Regions from separate parts of the Homo sapiens genome. Here region 1 is linked to region 2. Evidence: promoter capture Hi-C in human tissues and cell types (Jung and others, 2019). All regions are on one chromosome and are shown on one strand. The core of a region is centred on a gene start or on the middle of the fragment in contact, and the rest is flanking DNA. Distances in the headings are between cores, read along the strand shown.

Evidence for each region. The method cuts DNA at HindIII sites, captures the fragments that hold promoters and counts their contacts. A contact is called where the count stands out against the background at its distance.
Region 1: a fragment that was not itself captured here is called in contact with the fragment with the promoter of KCNE3 in region 2 in 2 of the 25 tissues and cell types used here (lymphoblastoid cells and spleen).

What each region holds. Positions count from the first base shown.
Region 1 is chr11:74,387,164-74,393,821 of GRCh38, forward strand. The region is part of intron 1 of PGM2L1 (phosphoglucomutase 2 like 1); the gene reads right to left. Among named protein-coding and RNA genes, the nearest start is that of PGM2L1, 7.9 kb to the right of the region's middle. The HindIII fragment of the contact is 9,021 bases long and covers 1-6,658 here.
Region 2 is chr11:74,465,158-74,471,347 of GRCh38, forward strand. It overlaps KCNE3 (potassium voltage-gated channel subfamily E regulatory subunit 3), which reads right to left and starts at 2,392. Exons shown (of 3, transcript NM_005472.5): 1 at 2,241-2,392. The HindIII fragment of the contact is 14,037 bases long and covers 1-6,190 here.

The DNA.
Region 1 (6,658 bases), core at 1,729-4,228, 77 kb before region 2:
ATCTCATCCTAATTACATGCTGCAGCCAGATTAATCAGCCAAGAATCAGCAATAGAGTTCAATTCTCATTACATCAAATGTAAAAATTAGAAAGGTTGGGGTCAGATCCCAAAGGGCAAAGGAGTTTGAAACCTTCTTGGATTCAAATAGTCCCCTCTCTCTACACTTCTCTGAGCCTGGGTTTGTGCATAGGCTTAAAAAAATGGAAATAACTACCTCAAACAATCCTTGGGAGAATTAAGAGACTTTCTACATGAAAGCATCTAGTAAGTACCATGTCTGGTACATGATCACTCATAAACACTAGTTTTCCTTCACCTATACTTACTCACCATAGTAGCACAATACATACGCTATACTTAAGAAATCTGTTCATGGTTTCTGCATGCCTCCTGCTCAGTTTCATTTCCCTGATCAGTGTCATTTTCCATTTTATGATTCTACTGTGCCCATTTTAAATTTTTGCCCCATATCCATTATCTATTTGTATCCTACTTACCCTTCAAGTCCCAGCTCAAATTCTACCTCTTACAAAAAATCTTCCTGACTTTGAACTCCTATTGCCCTTAAAAGCCAATGTCAGACAGTTAACCACTTAATTTTTATTTATATTTTAAATTTTACTTTATTATGAATTACAGTAACACATTTCTCTTATTTTAAAAATACTAATAATACAGATAAAGCTGCAGACATCATTGACCATTACTTTCATTCCCAGACCCCACCTTTAGAGGTGCCGCTTACAGCTTGTAATACATTCTTCCAGACCTTTACTACACATCTACATACTTGTAAAATGCAGTTTTGCTTTAACTCTTTTTTTACATATATGGCATCAAATTGTACATGTTGTTCTATAACTTGCTTATTTCATGTATATCTTGCACAGAGGGCCAAATACTGCATGATTTCACTTATATGAGGTATCTAAAATAGTCAAATTCATAGAATTAAAGAGTGGAATGATGGTTGCCAGATGCTGGAAGGGAAGGAGGAATGGAGAGTTGCTAAGCAAGAGGCATAAAGTTGCAGTTAAGCCAGATGAATTCATTATAGAGATATGCTGTGCAGCACTGTACCTACAGTTAACCATACTATATTGAATACTGGAAAATCTGTTAAGAGGGTAAATCTCATGCTAAGTGTTCTTAATATGATAAAATAAAATTAAAAAAAATATAAACCTATACACCTATGTATCTATATCTCTCTTTATATCTATATATCTTGGAGGTCCTTTTAATACATATAGAGCCATGCTATTCTTTTCACTCCAGAGTGTTCCAGTTTATGTCACCATTTATTTATTCATGGACACTTAGGCTTTTCCCTCATTTTTACCTATATAAATAATGAAATATTTCAGAGAGAAAATGACGTGAAAAAATTCTGAAGCAGAAACACAACATAAAACCATTACTTACGTTAAAGAGGTTTTCTAACAAGGTAGACATTAAAATGTCTTTGAATCAGAGAGATATGGTATTTTTCATTTACCATATTATAGTCTTCATACTCTTTAAGGCATTAAATATGACCATTTCCATTGTTTTGTTTGGTAAGATACACTCCTCATTAAATGACTTGGTGTAAAAGATCTCATGAGGATTGGTGACACTATCTCACTGCCTTCCTGTCTATTCTTCACCAGCATAGAACATTTTCTCCATTAACTCCCGATACTAGAGGGCAGCAGCCTCAGTACTAATTAGTAGTAATGCAGACCACAGTTGACTAATGAAAACAATACTCCTTCAGTAAAATCTGCACTAAATTACTAATCAACCTTTTATTTTGAGGGAAAATATTTCTAAAAAGCCAAACAGACATAAATTAGGTAAAAACAGGTTTCTCCATGAGACAAGCCAATTGTGCTGTCTCTCCAAAAGGAAGGATGAAAGAATTCTGATTTAGATTATCCAGGGATTATCATTGAAATCTAAGCTAATGTAACCAGGTGTGATGGCTTGTGCCTGTAGTCCCAGCCACTCCGGAAACTGAGGTGGGAGGATCACTTGAGCCCAGGAGGCTGCAGTGAGCTATGATCACACTGCACTCTAGCCTAGGTGACAGGGTGAGACCCTGTTTCTCTACAAAACAAAACAAAACAAAAACCCTGAGCTAATGAAATATAATAAGATGTATATTCTTTTGTTAATTCAATGTATCTCACAAGTAAAACCTGGAAGAATCAAATGATGATAAATTCCTTTTTATTAGATTATCCATATTCTTTGATTTTTTTAAATAAGAGGAGAGGAAGAGACAGGAAAAATACTTTTTTAAAAATTTATTTTTTTTGAGATGGAGTCTCGCTCTGTCACCCAGGCTGGAGTGCAGTGGCGCGATCTTGGCTCACTGCAGCCTCCGCCTCCCGGGTTCCAGTGATTCTCCTGCCTGTCTCCTGGGTAGCTGGGATTACAGGCAAGTGCCATCACGCCCAGCTAATTTTTTGTATTTTTAACAGAGATGGGGGTTTCACCATGTTGGCCAGGCTGGTCTCGAACTCCTGACCTCAGGTGATCCGCCTGCCTTGGCCTCCCAAAGTGCTAGGATTACAGACGTGAGCCACTGCGCCCGACCGGGAAAATAATTTTAGATCAAAGACATATCCGAATAGGTTTCTAACGGCCTTGTAGAAAACTTGAAGGAACTGGCCGGGTGCGGTGGCTCACGCCTGTAATCCCAGCACTTTGTGAGGCCGAGGCGGGCGGATCACGAGGTCAGGATATCGAGACCATCCTGGCTAACATGGTGAAACCCCGTCCCTACTAAAAATACAAAAAAAAAAAAAAAAAAAAAATTAGCCAGGCGTGGTGACGGGCGCCTGTAGTCCCAGCTACTCGGGAGGCTGAGGCAGGAGAATGGCGTGAACCCGGGAGGCAGAGCTTGCAGTGAGCCGAGATTGCGCCACTGCACTCCAGCCTGGGCGACAGAGCGAGACTCCGTCTCAAAAAAAAAAAAAGAAAACTTGAAGGAAGTAAACAAACAGCTTTTATGAAAGAAAAAAAAAAAAACAGGGCAAAGAAGTCCCCCAAATAACAAACAGAAGTGCTAGTCTACCTATTTTGAAAACTGTCAGGTGAGACAGGAAGAGCTTTCAAATATGAATCACTCCTTTTCAAATATATCTATGGAAAAATTACTACACTGTGTAGTTTTTCCACACCATCTTCTTTCAGTAAGCAATCTACATTTAAGGTTTCTTCATCTTTTCACAGCTTGATAGCTCATCTCTTTTTGTGGCTTGACAGCTAATTTGTTTTAATCACTGAATAATATTTGATATGCAACAGTTTGCTTATTCATTCACCTATTGAAGGACATCTTAGCTGTTTTCAGTTTCAAGTACATTTTTAATTTGAAGAAATAAAAGTATAAAGATTTTTGGGTCAAGATGAAAGACTTAAACACTTGTCTCCCCTCCCTGAGAACTTATTACAGTGATAGTAAAGGAACGAAAGGACTAAACCTACAATGTAAAAAGAACTGGAGGAAGGGATCAGTGGGTACTGAAGAGTAGATGCAATTTCCACGTACAAAAAGTAGCATGAAACAAAGTGCAATAAGCCCAAACCCAAAATAACTTGATAACATGTACATTTTGTTCTATAATCAAAATGAAATCTTGTCTTCAACATGGATGAACTATGAAGACATTATGCTAAGTGAAATAAGCTAGTCATAGAAAGACAAATATTGTATGATGCCACTTATATGAGGTACCTAGATTAGTCAAATTCATAGAAACAGAAAGCAGAATGGTGGGTGCTAGAGGCTTAGGGGACGAAGAAATGGGGAGTTATTTAATGGGTACAGAAATTCAGTTTAGCAAGATGAAAAAGTTCTGGAGATCTGTTTTTCTTTCCTTAAGATCCATCAATTAATTGTTCAAAATGATGCCCCATTTTAGTTGGCTTCATTTTTAGACCATAACTTAACTTACTCAGCTTTGTCTTTCCTTGCTTATTTGGGTCCTTCATTCTTTCCTTCCCTCCCTCCCTTCCTACTTTCTTCCTGTTTTCCTCCTCCCTCCCTCCCTTCCTTGGGTAACTGCTTTTTCTTTTCTGTTCTTTTTTTTTTTAATGTTGTTGACCAGAAACAACACGCCATCTTCACCATATTACTAACATCTTCCAGCTTTTTACTATTTATGGCATAGATGCTGAATTCTTTTTCAAGATATATTTCTGGAACCCCAGTGTGGATCAGTACACTATTTTCATCTAGGATTTCTTTACATTGGATTTCTGGGGAAGTTACTCCACATCAACTTCCTCATATTTCCTATTTCCTTTTGCTATGTTTCCTCAACTTTAACGTCTATATTTTCTATTGCATTTGGCAGGGGTGGGGTGTAACGTTTTTTTCTTAATTTCCAAGAGCTCATTATTGTTTCCTGTTCCTTTTTCATAGCATATTTCCTTATTTGATGGAATAATTGTCTTATTTAATCAAAAAACATTAAGTTCTTGTGTTCCCTGACTTAACTCAGTTTTTTTCCTGTATCCATTGCTTTACTTATTTTTCATGCAGCTTATTTCCTTTTTATAGTTTGATCGTTAGTTAGTTATTAACATCAATAGATTTTTAGCCGCTGGTACCCAACATTCTGTTTTCTGTTTCTGTGTATTTGACTACGCTAGGTACCTTATATAAGCTGGTATGGGTTTTCTCTGTTTTCATGTATACAATATGTTTTCTGCCAGTCTCCTCTTAAATAGAATGGCCAGTTGGAAGCCCTGTTTGTTAGTTGCACTTATTGTCCTGCAAACTTTGCTAGCATTAATTATATTGTTTAAACTTTTGAAATAACTAATGCTAATAGCATAACTATCAAAATTTAGGAGACATAGAGAATAGTGAGTGAATTCCCATTTTTTATAGCACAGGGATATATTTGACAGATAATATCTAAAGCTTTAAAATACATCAAGAAATAGTGCTTCTAGTATATTACTTAGTCTTTTCATGGTAACCACAAAAATAACTAAAAAGAAACTTAAAATGACTTATAAGGAGCAAACTGAGGAAAAGAAGAGGCAGTTAGGATCATTGTTTTCCATTATAATCCCTTCTGTACTATTTTTTAAAATCATAAGCATGTATTTCTTCAAAAAAAATAAATTGCAAATAAAATGATGAAAACAGGAGAAAATGTAGGAAATTTGGAAGTATAAAGAAAAAAATGAATTTGAATTCTAAAAAGAAAAATTCAAATATTCATTTATATGTACTAAATTTCTTGGACAGAAGGAGAATACTGTGTTGCCAAGGAGACCAAAGCAACTGTTCAGCTCTTAAAAAAAAAAAATCCATGGCAATTTATTCTGCATAATATTACATCCTACTCCAGCTTTATAAAAGCCAATAAAATAGTTTTTTTTTTTTTGAGACGGAGTCTGGCTCTGTCGCCCAGGCTGGAGTGCAGTGGCGCGATGTCGGCTCCCCTGCAAGCTCCGCCTCCCGGATTCACGCCATTCTCCTGCCTCAGCCTCCCGAGTAGCTGGGACTACAGGTGCCCGCCACCTCGCCCGGCTAATTTTTTGTATTTTAGTAGAGACGGGGCTTCACCATGTTAGCCAGGATGGTCTCGATCTCCTGACCTTGTGATCCGCCCGCCTCGGCCTCCCAAAGTGTTGGGATTAGAGGCGTGAGCCACTGCGCCCGGCCAGCCAATAAAACAGTTTTAATGAGGGCCTTGAAACTTAGTTTATGTTGTCACTAACATTTATTAAACATTTGGTTTATGGAGTCTACCCTAGTGATAAGAATACAGTAAAAGTCAGATGACCTAGGTTTGAGTCCCAATTTTACCACTTAAAAGCCGTATCTCCTTTAGCAAGTCACTTTTCTTTTATGAGCTTAAGTTTCTTTACTTGCAAAATTGGGGATAACTACTACCTGCCTAACACACTGTTGCTATGAATAGCAAATGAGACTTAACAGCATTTTACCAAAGTTGAAACACTACAAAAATAAATTCAAGGAATAAGGACTAGCATTTCCCAAAAGTAATAAAGCCATATGTGTATACTGTGTACTCTTCATTGATTAAATGCCAAATTCAGTATTAGAAAAATGTGAACAAAAAATGTTATATAAACTAGTATTATAAAAATTGGATTGAACTAGGTGGCAGATCCAAGCTCCCATCTAAGCTCCCCAACTGGATAATGTCCACAATTTCTTTGGGTCTCTACGCAATGACCCTGGAGTAGACCACCTTTGTACAGGTATGTCATAGGTGTATTTCCCATCACATAATGATGACTTAAAAGGAAATTCACTCACCATCTTTTCTATCTGGGCTACATTAGGAGGCACAGAAAATCATGTGAGTGACATTGGAAAAAAAACTTCTACCATTAGACTAATGTGTGAATCACTGGCTTAGATTGAAGTATTTTATTTCCATTTTCAGGCTTTTTATAAGCCTACGCTACCTTGAACTTTACATGATACTCTTTCTCAACGCAGACCTACATTCTGAGACCACAGTGCTCTACTTGCTATTTCTTAAAATGCCGTGGCCAATTCCTGCCTCCACATCGTTGTTGATATATAGGAAGTTCAACACCTTTGTGACAGCTGCTATAGCAGGCTGAGCAGCTCTAGCCTGTGTCCCAGCTCTATTCCCCATCCAGCCACTGAC
Region 2 (6,190 bases), core at 1,142-3,641:
GTGCGCTTTAAGGTAAGAGGGCAGGGTCCTGTGCCTCATACATTTCTTTATTTCCCAGCCCTGATACCTAGCAGGCATTCAAGAATAAATGAATCAATGCCTCTTCTCTAAGAGCATTCCCCCGCTCTGGCACACGCACATACATTCATGAAAACAGTTTACAATATTTAAAAAGCAACCTCCAGGGCAGGGCAAAACAGATTTCATTTGGTCTGGGGAAGGGATGGCTCAAAGAAAAGAAGCCATCTCAGTCAGGTGGGGTGAGTCAGAGGAGGAAGAATTCTAAGCCTTCTTTGGAAGCCCAGATGCTCCCTGCACCTGGACCCCATTCAATCCAAAGGGCAAACATTCTTGGCCTCAAAACACCAGCAATGGCTTTGCAACCCTCTTCCCTGTGTACCTACCCAGGGTGTGGCCACATACACCCACCCACTGCACACACACACACAGTCCAACTCCCCAGTCCCTCAGCCTGTGATCTTGCCGTTCAAGTGTTCCTTTCATGATTCTAATCTTGGCTGTATGCTTGGCTCTGTGTCCTTGAGCACTGCATTTACTTCCTCTGAACCTCATCTATAAGATGGGGATAATGATCCCTGCCCTGCCTACCACACATGAGAACTAGAGGAGACAAGAGATGGGAATGTTTTAGAAATTGCAAACATACAAGATAATTATCAGGCAGGCTGGTCACACTGTTTTCCTTTTCTGTCTCCACATCTTTCCTTTCCCCCCATATTACCAAGAACAACCATCTCTGTGTCTCCTTTCCCACTCCAGGTCTCCTAGCCTCAGAAGCAGCCAGGAGGTTCTTATTATTCTTCTTGATTCCCAGGAACCTCACCTTCTCCAGAAGCCTTCCTGTTTCCTACCCTCTATGATCATTCCCGCAGTCCCTTATCATTGAGGGGTACCATTCTGTAGTCCTGTAGCTGGTGGAGAACACATCAGAGGGGGAATCAGGAGACCTGGGTTCCTGCCCCTACTAGGCCAACACGTCTAGCCGTGCGTTTTGGTTAAGTAACTTTATCACTCTAAGTCTATATCCCTCTAGGCCTCATTTTCCTCATCAGTAAGATGGAGTTTCTTGTCTTGCTTCCCTCTTAGAAGGTATTTTGAGCACTCGCACATTAAGTTTATGGATGTGCTTTGAGACGTATAGACTGAGTGAGGGATGGAGAAGGTGATGGTTATCATCTCAAGGAGTCAAGAAAATCTGAAAGCAGCTTCTAGGCCCCCAGCATGGGTCTTCCTCCATCAGGAACAGACAAAGTGGACGGATGCAAGGAAATAAGGAGGAGCTCACACGTTTACAACATGCCTTTGTAGGTGAAGTGGAGAGAGCCCTGGGCTAGGACTGAGGAAACTTGGGTTCTAATTCTGTTTGGTCTCTGTTGTAACCTTAGGTAAATCATCTCCCCTGGGGCATCAGTTTCCCTATATGCAAATTAGTGGAGAGGATTTTAGGAGGGATACTCTGGTGGGCTTTCACGCAAGAACTAAACTCATTTATTTTCGAGATAAGAGACTCTGAGGTCCAATCCCCCTTTCCCCTTCTGTCCCATGGGGTATGCAGGCAACAGGAGCAGGAGGCCCGTTTTACAAATGGTGGCCCAGGAAAAGCGAGCACAAGGCGCAGAGCTGAGGGATGACTGCCCGGGTTTACACAGCCTGTAAACTAGAACTCAAGTCTCCCGACTCCCAGCCTCGACCTATGTTACTGGCAGCAGAAGATGCTTTTGGGAGTCACCAGGTTTCCCGGGACTAGGTCAGACAGGGTGAAGGACACAGTGAGGTGTAGAGGGAATGGGCAAGTCAGCTCCGCAGAGCCGGTGGCTCCAGCCAAATGAGACTGTGCTGGGTCCTGAAATGTCGTTTCTGCGTGTGCACTGGCTGCCAGCTGCAAGTGTTCGCTTGCACGTCTGTGGGTGTGGAGGAACTTTTCTTGTGGCCGTCTTGAGGGCTGGGAATAACGGCGCAAGTCCCCACGGTTTCCAGACGGGGCGCGCAGAGCCCAGCTCCCTACTCCCACATGCTGCTCCACGATCACTGCGCTCGGGAGGATCGGGGAGGATCCGGGAGGACTAGCTTGGTATTTGCAGCGCCCACCCCTCCCCCACTCCCCCTCGGTTCCACAGTCTCACGGAGAGCGCGCCGTGGCCCTTGGAAGGGAGGCGGGAAGACCCCTCATTTCCACCCCAGGCCGCAGCTCAGCCTTCCCAGCTGGGTGGGTGCCTTACCTGCCTCTCAGCAAGGCTCCGGGGCGCCCGTTTGCTCGCTGGACACGGCGCCCTCTGACCGAGGGTGGCCCAAGCGCTGCGACCCTGTGCATTCCACCAGCCCCGTTCCACTCCGCGGGTGCCCAGCACCGCCCAGCGCGCTCTCTGGCTCTGGGCTCCCACCCGCGCTCGGCTCCCTTTTCCCTCCCCCGGGCGTCCCCTCCCCCTGCCCCGCCCGGGCCCCAGCACACCCACTTCTCCCCGGGCTGGCCTGGAGTGCCTCCGCCCAGCTCCTTGGCCTCCCCCGGCTGTGGGCTCCGACCCTTCCGTCCCCTGCAGCGCCTGCTTCCTGGACCAGAGACCGAAAGCCTCTCGCTCCGCTGGGCCTCAGCAAGCCCAGCATGAGGCCGATCTCCAGGAGTCGGTTTTGCTCCAGTGTGGCTGTGTGGTGGTGGGCGAGTCGCTGCCCCTCACTGGGCCTTGGCCTGGCTGTAAAGTTGGTACAGTTCCTCCATGCATTCTTCACAGGCTTATGGTTGAGGTCAGATGAGACCTTTGAGTCCAAAGTATTAAAACCAAAGGGTCAACAGCAAAATAATATGATTCTTACACAAACTCTTTTCCACACAGGACGCAGAGGCCCAGTTGGAGAAGGGATTTGCCCAGGTAGCAGAGCCCAGACCCAAAATCCACTACACACCCCTCTGTCTCTGAGTAGCACCAGCAAATGTTTCCTCCACCAAGCCTCAAAAGTTCGTGACAGTGCCTGACCAACTTGTGTTCAGCCGCACCTTACTCATCTCTGTCCCAGAACAGTTTATTTTCCCACCACCATGCCCTCACTCAAACTGTTGTTTCCTTGCTGGTGACATTGCAGGCTTCAGAGAACTGGGGCAGCCGGGGCAGCTGAGGAATAAGAGCCAGGAGGCTAGTGGCAGAGGAAGGGACAGTTGCAGAGAATTTCTCCGGGGGACCCTGTGGGGTGCCCTTTTACCAGCTCACTGCCTCAGAATAATTAATAACAGCCTCAGGCCAGCTCTTTCACTCCCTTGCAAAGGTCTGCTCCAGGATATCTGAAGCACATACTCTCAATTACAGAATCCCAGAATATATCTAAGAAGTGCTATCGTTTTAAAAAGACCTACTACAAGGTGGGTATATTGTATATTGTATACAATATACAAGGTGGGTATATTGTACCCACCTTGTTTTGACCCTACTATTCCTTTTTCTCAGTCTGGAGATCACCTCTCAGAAAAGTCATCCTAATCACCTAAGCATGCAATCTCAGTTTCCTTCCTTCCTTCCTTTCTTTCTTCCTTCCTTCCTTCCTTCCTTCCTTCCTTCCTTCCTTTAGACAGGATCTCACTGTGTCACCCAGGCTGGAGTGCAGTGGAGTGATTATGGCTCACAGCAGCCTTGAACTCCTGGGCTCAGGTGATCCTCCTCCCTTAACCTCCTGAGTAACTGGGACACACCACTATGTCTGGCTAATTTTTGTATTTTATAGAAATTGGGTTACTCCATGTTGCCCAGGCTGATCTCGAACTCCTGGGCTCAAGTGACCTGCACACCTCCACCTCCCAAAGTTCTGGGATTACAGGCATGAACCACTGTGCCCATCCTGCAACCTCAGTTTTCAATCTGCCTAAGAATCCCCTGGGGAGCTTGTTTTACTAAGTAGACTTTTGGGCTCCACTCCAGAGGTTCTAATTCAGGAAATCTGGAGTAGAGCCTAGAAATCAGCATTTTCAAACAAGATTTCCAAATGACTCTGATGCAAATGGTTCTTGAGACTAGCCATGAGGAAGCAGTCCTGGCTTGGTCAGGGTTCTTTCTCAGATCCTGCCCACGGCCTTGCATTTACTCTGTAGGACTGTCTATGACAGTTATAGAAAGTAACCATTTGTCCACCCCATCTGCTAGGTTGTGAGTTCTTTGAAGATAGGGATTGTCTTTTGTTCTAATAAAATCTTAGAACCAAAGTCTTAGAATCATATCATCTTAGGGTTCTGGAATGTAAATTGGAAGAACTCTCAAGAGTTTCCTAGTCAAATCCCTCATGAGCCTAACAGATTCTCCCATTTCTTTATTTTTGGAAACATATCACCCAGGCTGGAGTGCAGTGGTGTGATCTCAGCTTACTGCAAACTCTGCCTCCCAGGTTCAAACAATTCTTGTGCCTCAGCCTCCTGAGTAGCTGGAATTACAGGTGTACCACCACACCCAGCTAATTTTTGTATTTTTAGTAGAGACGGGGTTTTGCCATGTTAGCCAGGCTGGTCTCGAACACTTGACCTCAAGTAATCTGCCCGCCTTGGCCTCCCGAAGTGTTGGGATTACAGGTGTGAGCCACCACACTCTGCCTCTATTTCATTTTTGAAATGAGGCTATCCAGCTTCTCTTGCACACCTCTAGGGAGCTCAATGCCTGCAAGGCAGCCAGACAGCTCTGATTGTTAGGATGTTCTCACATTTTAACAAAAACTGCTTCCTGTTGACTTCTACCCTTTGGTCCTTGCACCCATTGGAGACATGAAATAGAAGTCTGATCTGTGTTCCCTTTTACAGTCTTTCAAGAATTTAAGGTCGGCCAGGAGCAGTGGCTCATGCCTGTAATCCCAACACTTTGGGAGGCTGAGGTGGGTGGATCACTTGAGCTCAGGAGTTCAAGACCAACCTGGATAACATAGTGGGACTTCATTTCTACAAAAAATAAAAAAATTAGTTGGGCATGATGCTATGTGCCTGTAGTACCAGCTACTTGAGAGGCTGAGGTGGGAGGATTGCTTGAGCCCAGGAGGTTGAGGCTGCAGTGAGCCAAGATTGTGCCACTGCACTCACTACAGCCTAGACAACAAAGTGAGACCCTATCTCAAGAAAAAAAAAATTTGCTGGGCGTGGTGACTCACGTCTGTAATCCCAGCACTTTGGGAGGTGGCGGATCACGACGTCAGGAGTTCAAGACCAGCTTGCTCAATATGGTGAAACTCCGTCTCTACTAAAGATTAAAAAAAAAAAATTAGCTGGGTGTGGTGGCATGCACCTGTAATCCCAGCTACTTGGGAAGCTGAGGCAGAAGAATCGCCTGAACCTGGGAGGCAGAGGTTGCAGTGAGCTGAGATTGCGCCACTGCACTCCAGCCTGGGTGACAGAGCAAGACTCTGTCTCAAAGAAAAAAAAAAAAAGAATTTAAGGTCTATCCTCTACTCCCCCTTCTCTGGGGTGAGGATAAGGCAGCAACCATGTCAGGGAAGGCAGCTGGCCATTGGAAAGGGGGCTGAGCTGCCTCATGTTCCCCACCTGTGCCCTGGAGCCTTGCCAGCAGGCTTAGATGAAGTGATGCGTTTAATATGCCTGGAGCCGGGCCTAGCATGAGGCATAGGCTTAATAAATGGCAGCTTCTATTGTCACTGGATGAGAAAGAGCAGGAGGAAACAGAGTTCCTGTCTCTGGGGATCTCTAGTCTGACAGGGACTTCAAGGAGCTCCCTAATCCAAAGACATTGGAGACATGGCCCTGACCCTGGGAAGATGGGGGAGTGGGGTGGATGGAATTTGAGGGTAGGATGAGCTGATTGAAGGGATGAGGGGAAGACTCACCTAGAGACATGCCACAAACAAGTCTTGGCTTAAATGTTACCTTCTTGGTGAGGCCTTCCCTGAGCATCCAATCTATAAATGCTAATTCCTCCCTTCTCCTGCCTCCCTACCTCCATCCCCTGCCTTGTTTTTCAGTAACACCTTAACAGATGATTCTGATATATTTCACTTACTTAAAAAAAAAAGTCTTTTGTTGTTGTTCTTGCTGCATCTTCAACTGAGGCCCACAGCTCCCGCTGCCCTCAGCCCTATCTTAGAGCTCTCCCTGAGTCTGGATTCCTGTAACCACCTCCTTCTCTTTCCTCTTCAGTCCTAGGGGTGGTAGTGATGCCCAGGTGCTTTCAGCTCCAGGATACCTCACAACCCCTGT